Regions from separate parts of the Homo sapiens genome. Here all the other regions are linked to region 3. The links are contacts of gene promoters, found by promoter capture Hi-C in blood cells and fetal thymus (Javierre and others, 2016). All regions are on one chromosome and are shown on one strand. Each heading gives the region's core, a stretch centred on a gene start or on the middle of the fragment in contact. The rest is flanking DNA. Distances are from core to core; before and after follow the strand shown. Region 1 overlaps LOC100506023 (a long non-coding RNA gene). Region 2 overlaps PRDX6-AS1 (PRDX6 antisense RNA 1). Region 3 holds the start of KLHL20 (kelch like family member 20).

What was found. Contacts are between HindIII fragments. The CHiCAGO score rates a contact against its expected background, and 5 or more counts as called.
Region 1: a contact is called between a fragment that was not itself captured here and the fragment with the promoter of KLHL20 in region 3, in 2 of 17 cell types (neutrophils and M1 macrophages). The highest score is 6.3, in neutrophils.
Region 2: a contact is called between a fragment that was not itself captured here and the fragment with the promoter of KLHL20 in region 3, in 13 of 17 cell types (megakaryocytes, M1 macrophages, naive CD8 T cells and 10 more). The highest score is 9.2, in megakaryocytes.

Annotation. Positions count from the first base shown.
Region 1 is chr1:173,409,424-173,413,223 of GRCh38, reverse strand. All of the region lies in intron 2 of LOC100506023 (a long non-coding RNA gene), which reads left to right. It also overlaps a transcript of TNFSF4 not described here. Among named protein-coding and RNA genes, the nearest start is that of PRDX6-AS1, 50 kb to the left of the region's middle. RefSeq lists an enhancer at 1,976-2,525. The HindIII fragment of the contact is 6,231 bases long and covers 1-3,800 here.
Region 2 is chr1:173,437,226-173,441,259 of GRCh38, reverse strand. All of the region lies in intron 1 of PRDX6-AS1 (PRDX6 antisense RNA 1), which reads left to right. All of the region lies in intron 2 of LOC100506023 (a long non-coding RNA gene), which reads left to right. It also overlaps a transcript of TNFSF4 not described here. Among named protein-coding and RNA genes, the nearest start is that of PRDX6-AS1, 22 kb to the left of the region's middle. The HindIII fragment of the contact is 1,267 bases long and covers 1,375-2,641 here.
Region 3 is chr1:173,713,564-173,717,624 of GRCh38, reverse strand. KLHL20 (kelch like family member 20) reads right to left here and starts at 2,644. Exons shown (of 12, transcript NM_014458.4): 1 at 2,547-2,644; 2 at 1,559-1,622. The coding sequence starts at 1,581. It also overlaps a transcript of ANKRD45 not described here. RefSeq lists enhancers at 2,101-2,470, 2,551-2,740. The HindIII fragment of the contact is 9,904 bases long and covers 20-4,061 here.

The DNA of each region.
Region 1 (3,800 bases), core at 480-2,979, 300 kb after region 3:
TGTGTCTCTGTCTTTCTCTCTCTCCTATATTTTCCAGCTCCACTTGCTAAAGGTAAGGCCCACCTCTGTCCTGACCATTAGAAATTAGTTGTCTCCCTTAGAACATCTTTTTCCTCATCTTCTGCAAATACTTTTCAATCCCCCTTGGAGATTCCCTCCTCTGTCCATTTTTGGTCTGGGTGGGCTCCATCCTCAGCCCTCAGGATGGGCCATAGGACCCCGTCCCAAGCCAATCAACACACTATTCCCTTGGATGCAGGAGTGAGTATGTGACCTAAACAGCCTCGATTCCCACCCCCTTTTTTATTGAACTCAAACTTATCTGTTGCAAAGTGTACAAAGTATACAACTTGATGAATTTTACATAAAATCCGTTGTATACATCTGTGGAATCATTACTGAGATTGAGATACTGATCATTTCCATCAGCCCAGCACCTCCCCTTGTAGTCCTTCTCTGTAATACTCCACTCAAAGATAATCACTATTCCGACTTCTGTTACCATTAATGGAAATTTTACCCATTTTTAAATTCTATATGAATGGAATAATATGTAATCTTTGGTGGCTGGCTGTTGATCTTTCTGTTACTGACTTGCAGCAGTTCTTTATTTTGGATATGAGTCCTTTGCTAAATACATATATTGCAAATATATTTTCTTAGCTCATAGTTGCGTTTTGACTCTCCTAACGATGTCTTTTTAGGAATATTAGTTCAAATCGCTAGTCTTTCCTATGGTTAATGCTTTTAATTTGTTCTATTTAGAAAATCTTTTAATGCTTTTAATTTGTTCTGTTTAGAAAATCTTTGCACACTCTGAGATCATGCGCAAGTTAATGACTTTGAAGGACGAAGAAGTAAAATGTTTTTGTTGCATTTGAGATTGTGAGGCAGTGAGGCTGAGCCAGAAACGAAGACAGAAAGCAGATAGACTTGTAGGGCTGGCCTTGAGATGGGGCACTGTCACAGGGTGAGTCTGAGCTTTGCAGGCACTGTCTATTTACTATAGTTGTGGCTGAAATCAGAGGCAGGCCAAGTGGATGAGACATGGGGCAGTTGACCTCAGAAGAGATTCCTTTAACTATTTCCTTTTTTTTTTTTTTTTTCTTGAGATGGAATCTTGCTCTGTTGCCAGGCTGGAGTGCAATGGCGCAATCTCAGCTCACTGCAACCTCCGCCTCCCAGGTTCAAGCAATTCTGCCTTAGCCTCCTGAGTAGCTGGGATTACAAGCGCCCACCACCATACCCAGCTAATTCTTTGTATCTTTAGTAGAGACGGGGTTTCACCGTATTGGCCAGGCTAGTCTCGAACTCCTGACCTCGTGGTCTGCCCGCCTCGTCCTCCCAAAGTGCTGGGATTACAGGCATGAGCCACTGCACCCGGCCAACTATTTCCTTTTTAAAATTTTTTTATTTTTATTTTTTGAGAGAGTCTCACTCTTTGGCCAGGCTGGAGTGCAGTGGTGTGATCTTGGCTCACTGCAACCTCTGCCTCCTGGGTTCAAGTGATTCTCATGCTTCAGCCTCCTGAGTAGCTGGGATTACAGGTGTGTGTCACCATGTCCAGCTAATTTTTTTGTATTTTTAGTAGAGATGGAGTTTTGCCATGTTGGCCAGGCTGGTCTCAGACTCCTGGCCTCAAGTGATCTGCCCACCTCAGCCTCCCAAAGTTCTGAGAATACAGGAGTGAGCCACTGCACTCAGCCTAACTATTTCTTGATCAAATATTTTATTGAGCTCTTCTGCTGCAAGATGACATCCTCATGGAATTTATATTCTAGAGGATTTTAGAGATTATTTTAAAATACCTTCTTATAGTCCAGATTAGGAAGCCAAGGTGAAGACATGAAAAATAATTTGCTTGTCATCACAGAGCTAGGGAAGAAGCACAGCTAAACCAGAACTACAGCTGGAACCCAGGTCTCCTGGATTGAACTGTCCCCGCCCCTGCCCCTGCCCCTGACACTAGTCCAGCAAAGAAAGACCTGAGGGGTGCTGGTGATGAGTGATGACTGCTCTGCCTCAGGCTGAAGATAGAAGCAGCCTATCTCAGGTGGGTGGAAATTTTCCTTTCTTCCTTTGACCATGGGCAAAGTGATATGCCCTGGTCCGCAGCAACAGAGACTTCAGGAAGCCCACACACGTCAAGCGGCCAAAGCGGACCAGTGTCAGCAGGGGGAAATCAGAGGGACTTCCCCCAAGTCCTTCCTGTCAAAGAAAGAAGCATGAGAGGCCTTCATGAAGGTGAAAACCACACATTAAGGACTAGTCCAGACTGGGTACATGTCTCCCCAGTGCAGCTGCTACCCCTTGGGTTTTACCCCAGGACACTGGGTTCCGTCCTGTCATGGTGGTCAGTGCTGGAAAGTTGGGGTTTAAAGCTGTACACAGAGCTTCAGGCAAGTCCTAGGCCAAAGTTCAGTCCAAGGAGCACCAAGGTCTTCTCACTAGCAGCAGGTAGGAAATGATGGACATTGGATGATAACCTGGAGGCCAGTGACATGGTGAGACCACTTCTGACTCCCTCATTTCCCATCTCTGACATCACATCTCCACCACGTGGGCTCACTTAGACATGCTCACAACTATTAAGGTACCACTGGGGGCTTCCTATGACCAAGTCCCTTTAAATGTCTTTTGAATGTTCCCTCCCATTGTGAGAGGAAGGTAGTAATAAGGTGGTACCAAAATAGAATCTTGACACCCATTTACAACTTTTATTTGAGAAGAAGAAATGGGGAGTTGATGAGTGAGTATACGGAGAACCAGTGAGTGAGTGAATGTATATATGTATCTATTTACTTTCCTGGGCCCCAGTAACCTTATTCCTTGAATTCTTGTTGAACCGCAAATTTAGAGCTTCTTTGTAGGTTAGTCTGGTGATTCACTGTTGGTTTGTGGGTGTCAGACATGCAACTGTGACAGCTGTCATCATCTTCTGTTTATGCTGGATTGTGGACTTCTTAAGATCAAGGCCTGTGTCTTTTTTTATTTTTTATTTTTAAATTGAGGCAGTGTCACACTCTGTCACCCAGGCTGGAGTGCAGTGGTGCAATCACGGCTCACTGTAGCCTCAACCTCCAAGGCTCAGGTGATCCTCCCGCCTCATTTTTTGATTTTTTGTAGAGATGAGGTCTCACTATGTTGCCCAGGCTGGTCTCAAACTCCTGGGCTCAAGTGATCCATCCACCCTGGCCTTCCAAATTGCTGGGATTGTAGGTGTGAGCCACTGCACCTGGTTTTTTAAAAAATTTAAGTTTATGTTTTATTGAAGTATAATATGTATACAGAAAAGAGTACAAACCTTGAATGCAGCAGGAGGGTGTACATGTACATAAAGGACTTACACCCGTGCACTCAGAGCCTAGATCAGGAAGCATGGAGAGCTGCGGGAGCTCCTCAGGGCTTACTGCCAGCCACCACTTCCCCTTCATCCTCCTGCCAGCGTAACCACTGCCTGCACTTCTCACACTGTAGATTAGATTTGCATGTGGGAGTCATATTTTTATGCCAGAAAAGAATACTTGATTTTTAAGAAAAAATCACTAAAAGCAAATGTCCTTCAGGGAATACACAATAGTTCAGTTATAAATTCTGTAGTCTTGGGCTTTACCTTAAAAAGTTTGATGACTTTCAATTTAATTTTTTCTTCTTATTTTGAAATAATTTCAATCCTAAAGAAAACTGGCAAGAATAGTATAATGACTTTTTTTTCTGAACTGTTGGAGAGGAAATTATTGCATGATGCCGTATCACTTTAATATTTGAATGTATCATTCCTGGACCCAAGGACATTCTTC
Region 2 (4,034 bases), core at 759-3,258, 280 kb after region 3:
AAAGAAGAAAAGGGTGAGAAGTAAAAGAAGCAAGTAGGGAGGAAAAGTTTGGAGAGGGTGGATAGGAGAAAAAAGTGGACTGTGGAATGGAAGATGAGGAGCCTGCTGGGCTTTGGGGTGAGTGTGGTGGTTGGAGTTGAACTGTTTTGGTTTCCTTGGGCACAGGCCCTGAGAGGAGGTTACCCCTGCTCTGACTGCACTCAGAGGTTTAGTAACAATAATATTCTAAGCTTTTATTTTTATTTCCATCTTTATTGTCTATTTTTGACAATCAGAATATTTTCTACTGGGATTTTAAACATCTTCACCTTGCGACAAAATTACTTAGAACTAAAGATTTAGAAATTTAGTGATTAATATTAGATTGTATTAATATGTATAGCCTGTATTTTGCTTTGATGGATTTTAAACCTTACAGATTGCATTAATTATTTTTAGGAAAGATTGAGAATGTGTCATTTCATAATGTCTAGATATTGCATCTTATTAAAAAATAAACCTATTTTTAGTCTACGTAGGAGCTGGTATGAGGATCACACAATGCAAGCAAATAAAATGAGAAAAGATGATTCAACAAGAGGCTTCACTGATTTACTGTTTAACTGCTTTGACCAAAGTGCTTGGTTCTTATATGAATAAGAAAGGGGATGAGTTATCCACCAGAATGAAAGTTATATTCTGGTTTGAAGCTTCTGCTGTCAGATAATATAGTTTTCTATAGTGTGGAAGAACAGCATCATCTTCAAGCAAGGTGGAATTAAGCATGGACAGAACTGTGTTTCTCACCCAGGAGGAGGGTAGGTTTTTTTTTCTTTTTTACTTCTTAAAACTTATTTTAATATTATTCTTCCCTCCCCCACCCCATTGGGAAAAGGCTAAAACAATCTGGATGGGTTTAATTAGAAATTAATACATACTGTCATTGTATAAAGTAAATCAACATTGTGGCAACAAGGGACTATTCTTGGAAAAAGTGAAACCCATATTAACAAAATATGTCATGGAAGATCCCCACATAGTGATTTCACTGGCTGCCTGAAAGACAGACAGTGTAAAGGTCGATGTTCTGCATGTTCTCTGGGGCTTGTCCATGCAACGGAAGAAGGTCTTTCCCAGACTCAGCCAAGCCTAGTTAGCTCCAACCAGGCCCTAGACCAAAAGCAAGGGAAGAGCACATCCTTTCAATAGAATAAGGGTAGAAAGGGATTCTCTGAATGTAGTAACTATGAAGCTATGCCAAAGGTAGGCAGAAAATGGGCTTGGGAGCCAGACACTCCAGGGTTCAGTAGTTCCTACCCACAGTCTTTGTGTGCTTGCTAAATGGTGTACATTTCTTGTTAACCACGTTATTAAAACTTGATCAGCATGTAAGCTTTCTTCTGTTAGATCTTTTGGCAGCAAACAACCTTCCCCCCAAGCCTCTGAATTTTGGAGGAGGGTAGGCTTGATGAATTGTTTAGAAATTTTGTGTTTGGTGGTGGCAGGAGGGGAGGGATCATGCGGCCTTCTGGTCACAAGCAAGCCTGCAGAAGATTCAGTGGCCTTTCCAGTTGACTTAGACAGCCTGTGTCCCTGGTGTCACTGACTGGCACCTATAGCAATACTTGGTGTTATTTAGCTTCTTGTCACATACAACTTTCTTCTCTTCTTTCCTTCAATTGTCCCTTTCCTCCTGACTTCTGTGAGGGATAGCAGGATTGAGGCCACAGGCTGCCACTCAGGGCATTCACTCTCTGATAAGAGTCAGTAAGGCAGAGCCACTGGTGCCCCCTGAACCCCTGCTGCAGGTGGGCAGAGGCTGGGCTGCTAGTGTGGTATCCAAAGGACAGTAGCTGTGCTCACTATGGCAGAGTCTAATTTTGAGATGTTGGGGATTCTGGAGAAGAAACATTTTGTGTGCTGCTGAGTCATTAGGAATTGACCATTATAGGTAGTAAATAGCAGAACAGAAGAAAGAAACAAGACTGATCATGAAATAATTGGAGCGAGGAGTTCTGCTGACTGTAACAATGTAAGACATTTGCATGTACATTGTGTGGTTGATTAGGAAAGAAGCTCTTTGTTCTGAAATGTCTTCATCAGTGAAAGTTGAAGAGATATGCTCAGCTGGGATACAGTGAACTCAATCTACTCCTCCAGGACTGGATCTGCAGAACTCAGATCTACCTTCCATGACAGCTTCTGGCCGTTGGCATACAGAGCTCTCCTCTCTCTCTGCACGTAGCTTGTCACTCACTCAGCTTGTATTGATGGGGTGGGGCAGTCTCAGATTGTTTTATAGGTGCAATTATTTAACTTCTTTAGATGAGGGTTGTGCTTTATGTTACTCTCTGAAGCCTCATTTATTTGCCACATGGTGGGTACATGAAGATACATGCTAAATGAAAGTTGTGCAAAGAGCTCTGAACTTGGAGGCAGATGACCTTGGACTTTTACTCAGTCTGTGTTACACATGAGCTTGGATAAGACTGATCTTTCAGCTTTCTTCAGACCTTAAGCATGAGATATAAAACAAGTAGAACATATAAATAAATAGAAGAAAATATACACAAATATTACATGATCTTTGAATTGTAAGACTCACTAAGCATAAATGCCACTGAAGAAACCACAAAGAAGAGATTTGCCAGTATGGAAAGCTTTTTAATTCTATATATCAGAAAATATAATAAAATTAAGAGGCAAATGACCTATTGAGAAAAATACTTCTACTTGGTAAGTCGAAGTATAGAAAATAAGCAAAAGATACAGTTCACAAAGAAAAAAATACAATCAGCTGATAAATATATGTGGTCAAAGAAGTACACTTTAAATCTACAGTGAGATACTTTTTAATCAGCTCAAATTTTCAGGGGGACCCATTCAGTCTTATATGATGCTGGTGGAAGTGGAAATTTCCTGGAGCAGTGTGTATTAAGAGCCATAAAAATGCTATTTCCTTGAAGTTAACAAGAAACTTGCTAGACCTGTATGAAGGATGCCAACTTAAAACAATTTATAAAATGTATTTATTTATTTTTTTCATGTTGTATAGGTTTTAATGTTTTTGAAACAAAATTAACCCATGGTAGACTTTGGTGGACAATGTGAGTCTTCTACCTAGATACTCTCTAATTTAGTCAGGGTTTAATTAAAGAAATAGAAGTACTAGGATAAAAATGTATTTGTTTTTACTGGGGGACATACCATGTTTCTGAATGGAAAGATTCAGTTTTGTAGGTATACAAATTTTCCCAAATTAATATTTAAGTTTAGTGCAATTCCAATAAAAAATTCTAGTGGGATTTTATTGGGGAGGGGCAGGTGTGATGGGAATTGATGATGTGATTTTAATTTTTCTTTTATGTTCTGAGTAAAACATTTTCTTGGGGTGCAGAAAATTTTATGATGGAAGAATAAGAAAACTAAGAATATTTTGAATAGGAACAATAAGTAGGAAAAATGTTTGCAATGGGATATTAATATGTATTATAAACCCACAGAATCTGAAGACAAGAGTGATGGACTGTATATAGATGGAACAGAATAGAGTGACCACATATGAACCCTAGTGTATGTGGGAATTTAGCATGTGATAAAAATGAAGAAAAATACAGTGAGGCAAAAGGTGGTTTTGGGTCAATTGAGAATCAGTTTGGGAAAAAGTAACAATAGATTTTTACCTAAAAGAGTACAAGAAAACAAATTCCAAATGGAATTAGTTAAATGTGGGAGAAGGACACTAAAAAACTTGAAAATAAAGATGAATGCCTATATAATTTTGTAGTGAGAAAGACCTTTGTAAGTACAGAAAAGCTGTAAAGGAAAAGACTGATAGAACTGGTTATATAATAACTTAAAGCTACAAACTAAATTAATAAGCAAATAATTAATAATAAGCTATTTACAACAAAAAAATTAACAAAGTTAAAGTACTTAAAAAAGAAAAAGCCGAGAGACCTTGTCTGGCCACCCTCAGGTTGGGTAATTCACAAGAATGACACACAGTACTCAGGAAAGCAGTTTTATTATGCTTACAATTTTATTATAGCAAA
Region 3 (4,061 bases), core at 1,395-3,894:
AAAGTTACTTCTCAAAGCTTCTTTAATAGCAACTGAGTATAAACCCAGCATTACAGAGACTGCCTTCTGGGTTAAATCAGCAAAAATGACAGCCCAATAAGAAAAGGATAGGGAAGTGTGACCATGATTGAATGTAGGAAGCAGGTGAAAGTAAGACCAGAGACCAATGTGAGTAGGCTAGGCTCTGGCCAAGTGACAGTGATGAAGAAAGAGCCGTAGCTTAACGATTAACAGCACTAGAATTATCCAGCATGATTCTGAATAGCTGACAGTATTATGTAATAAAGCAAGAAAAAAGGAGCAGGTATGAGTGATTAAGCAAATATTTTATATAGACTACTGATAAACCAAAAACATTCCCACACTCTGCTATTCTTTTAAAAAATAATAAGCTCTTATTTTAGCAATTATATAAGATATGACATTTTATGGTAGCTGGAGATGAGACACAATCAGTGGGTTTTGCAATAATGTTAGAAGTAAAGGGATGAAGTATTTAATATTATGTTGTTAATTTTTTCATGTACATTGTGGTAAAATATTATTCCTACTACAGAGTAAAATATAAATAAGATAATGGTATTTTTCATCTTGATAACATCTTTTCATCTGGAGATCTTAAAGCATTTGCAAATGTTCATTAATCCCCAATATCCTGATCAGATACACTAAAGAAGTAAACTGGGGTACAGAGAAGGTGAACAGCTCAAGGTCAATTGATAAACCAATAACAGATTTGGATAAAGATATACATTCTGGTTCTTGCTCCAAGTTCTGAGTTATAAGTCATATTCCCATTATAAAATGTTTCTTCTCTTAAAAGAACTGCAGAAGTTGTTTATCTTTGATGTTAAATAACAAATGATTAAATAGAGTTCAATAAATAGAAAACAAATGTAAAAACCAAAGAAATAGAACTGGGATGATTTTGTATCATAAAGATTCTAGTCTCATTTGTTAGAACAAAATGAGAAAAAACATTATTAAATTCTAGGGTTGGGAGGGCCTATTTATTGTCTATATTTTCCCAGACATTGTTCTATTTTTCTATGGACTAAGTTATTATGTCTAATACCTATTTTAGTCCTTATACAATCTTCCCTACAATGCAGCTATTTTAATTAACAGAACAAATGTATGATTGAACATCAAGGAAATAACCAAAACCATAATTAGGCATGCAGTACAGTATATTATAAATAATTATGATTCTTACATGGGAACAGAATCCTCTACATTTTATAGGGAACTGAAGATTATAATAAATCCATATAGTATCATAATGAACTTAATGATTATTTACTGTAAAAAACATGAAAAAAGGAAAATTTAAGTGTTTAGCACTACATACAATCCACAGCACTTTTCAGAAACAACTTCTGTATTTTATTCTATTAAAAAGCTATTAATTCTTAATATTACTTTTGATTTATTGTAGAACAAGACTCATTAGTTCCAAGCAGAATTTAGTAAGATTGAAACTCTTTTTTAAAAATTTAAATTATTACATGCTGAATTTTAATCAGTGAAACCAAAGGTTTTCTTCCTAAATGCCTACCTGCGCATTGGCTTTCCTTCCATGCACCATGAAAAGTACCCTTCACCACACTCTAAAGCCGAACCTAAGACAACAGAAAAGCAGGAACTTAATAAAAGCTATTTCTGATCTTTACAGTAACAATCTTTATATAATCATTTCACTCATTTCGTCAGTTATCAAGAGTTTCATATCCTATTATACCACAGGCCTTCTGCAGATGCACAATAACTTAATCTAGTACATTTAAGATTACCATCCTTACTCTGCATGCTAAAACGATTAAAGTAAAGGTGAGGGAAAGTATGCTAAATAGTCCCGACTGTTAGGTCAGTCTTGTTTCTCTTCAAAAAGTGCTTGGAGATATTTAACTGTGATCTCGACATCAAGTATATTTACAGAACAAGCACCAGATACCCACAGCAGTACTAACCTGATAGATCACATAGGGTACACGAGGCTTTAATAACGAATCTGAAGATTGTTAACTTGTCCCGAAGTGACAGGAGGAGGAGGCGTCTGCATTTGCCTTTACAAACAACTCCGCTTCCGACAGTCCAGGGAGCTTGAACAGGGCAGGGAAAGTATGGCTCCAGACTAACACTCTTTACAAGCATTTCCTTCAGTCCCCGATACAATGTTCACTACCCACGTAGCAGGATTTCGCCAGGTCCCGAGGGTTAAATGGGGGCGCACGTACTTTCTTCCTTCCCTGAATTCCAAACACTGTCTGGGGAAGCTGTCCAGGATGCGAAACCCCAGCACCACCAGGCAGGACAAAGCCCGGGGCCTCCTCTGGCTCCCGAGATAGGCTGTCAGCCAGCGAGAGCGCACTCTGGCGCTCCGCGAGGCCCGGCCCCAGCGCCCCAACAGTCTCTTCTCGGCGCCGACTGACAGGCGACCGACCTGACCCCATGGGGCAGCTCAGCAACTTGGGACCACATATCTGCGAAGCGAGCCCTGGGGCGCTGTCCGCTGTCCCCTGCTCTAAGGTGACTGGCTCACTTACCGGCTCTGACACTTTCTTCTCTGCAGCAGCCTCCTCCGTCTACTCCGCCCTCCACTCCTCTCTGCCTCCTCCTCCACCGCCGCTAACGCAGGCAGGATGCCGCTCGTAGAGCTATTTCCTTTCCCTTCACCGGCCCATATCCAGAAGCAGGAAGTAGTCCTATTCTTAAATCGTTCCCGCAGGAACCCACATAATCCGCCAAGGGGTTCCGGTGCGGCTCCGGAAGTAGTCGTGCCCTTTGCTGGGGCATTCAGGTAACCTCAGAGGTTGTTTATCCTCGTGGGGGTTCCTTGTATCCCAAGAGTAACCATTTTTAGAATTCACTGCGGAACTGGCAGTATTTGAATACTGAAGCCTCCTCTTTTCTTCTTTGTTTTCGCCAGCAAAGGCAGTAAAGGGTAGTCACAGAAAGCTAAGAATTTGTATTTCTTTTTAGTTGGTGGGTCTCCTTTTGGCACAATGTTCCTAATTGTGGATTGAATTATTGCATGCACACATGGGTTGGCATGTATCTGTCAGGCCTCTACTATGTGCAAGGTGCAGAAGTTAGATAGACAGACCAGAGATAGACCTTATCCTCCAGATTTCCCACGGTCAAACTTTCAGGACACCAGGATTTTATCCAGGCTCTAAGGCTGTGTTAGTCTGCCCTTTCTACTTAGTATTCACCACCAGACACTTCACCAAACACATCTTCTGTGGATTCACTTTAATGTTAAGGAGGGAAGAGTATATTTTCTTAAAAAAATTTTTTTTCAGTAGCAAGCAGAGCCAAAAAAGTATATTTTTAAAATTATCTTTTCCTCCAGATTTTCCCATAGCACACAGCCACCTGATTTTTACCGTATATTAATATTTAGAAAACAAGTGATACAAGTGTAAGGTGGGGATTACAATTTCAGGAATATCAGAGAAAGACTGTTGCTGATTTCCTGGTAAGTATACTAGGCTAAGTATTAACCAGATTTTCTTTAGCTGTTCTTTATGTAGAATCTACACAGGTGTGTCCAGTTGTTTCTGAGGGGAAAGGATACCTCTTGTTAATTAGCTTGTAGTGGAAAATACATGGCCTTTAGATCCAGATATAGTGGCCCAGTGGATTCTTCTTGCCTGCTGCCCAGATACAGATGATTTATCAAGGTATAGGGATTGCAATGGAGAAAGAGTTTTACACAACATCGAGTGGAAAAATGGAAGAAGTTTTATTATTACTCAAATCAGTTATATTATTACTCAAATCGGCCTCCTGGAGCATTTGGGGGCTAGGTTTCTTTTCAAAGGTAGTCTGGGGAAAGGGGTAGGGGTGGCTAGGCAATGGGTGCTTGCTGCTGACTGGTGCAGTCATAGGGGTATGGGAGATGGTCCTCCTGCCTACTGAGTTGTTTCTGGGTGGAGCCACAGGAACAGTTGGTGGGTCCAGGTGGAGCCATCAGTAGTCAAACATGCAAAAAACTTAAAAATATACCCAAAAAGGCCAATCCTAGATTCTACAATAGTGATGTTATCTGTAGGAGT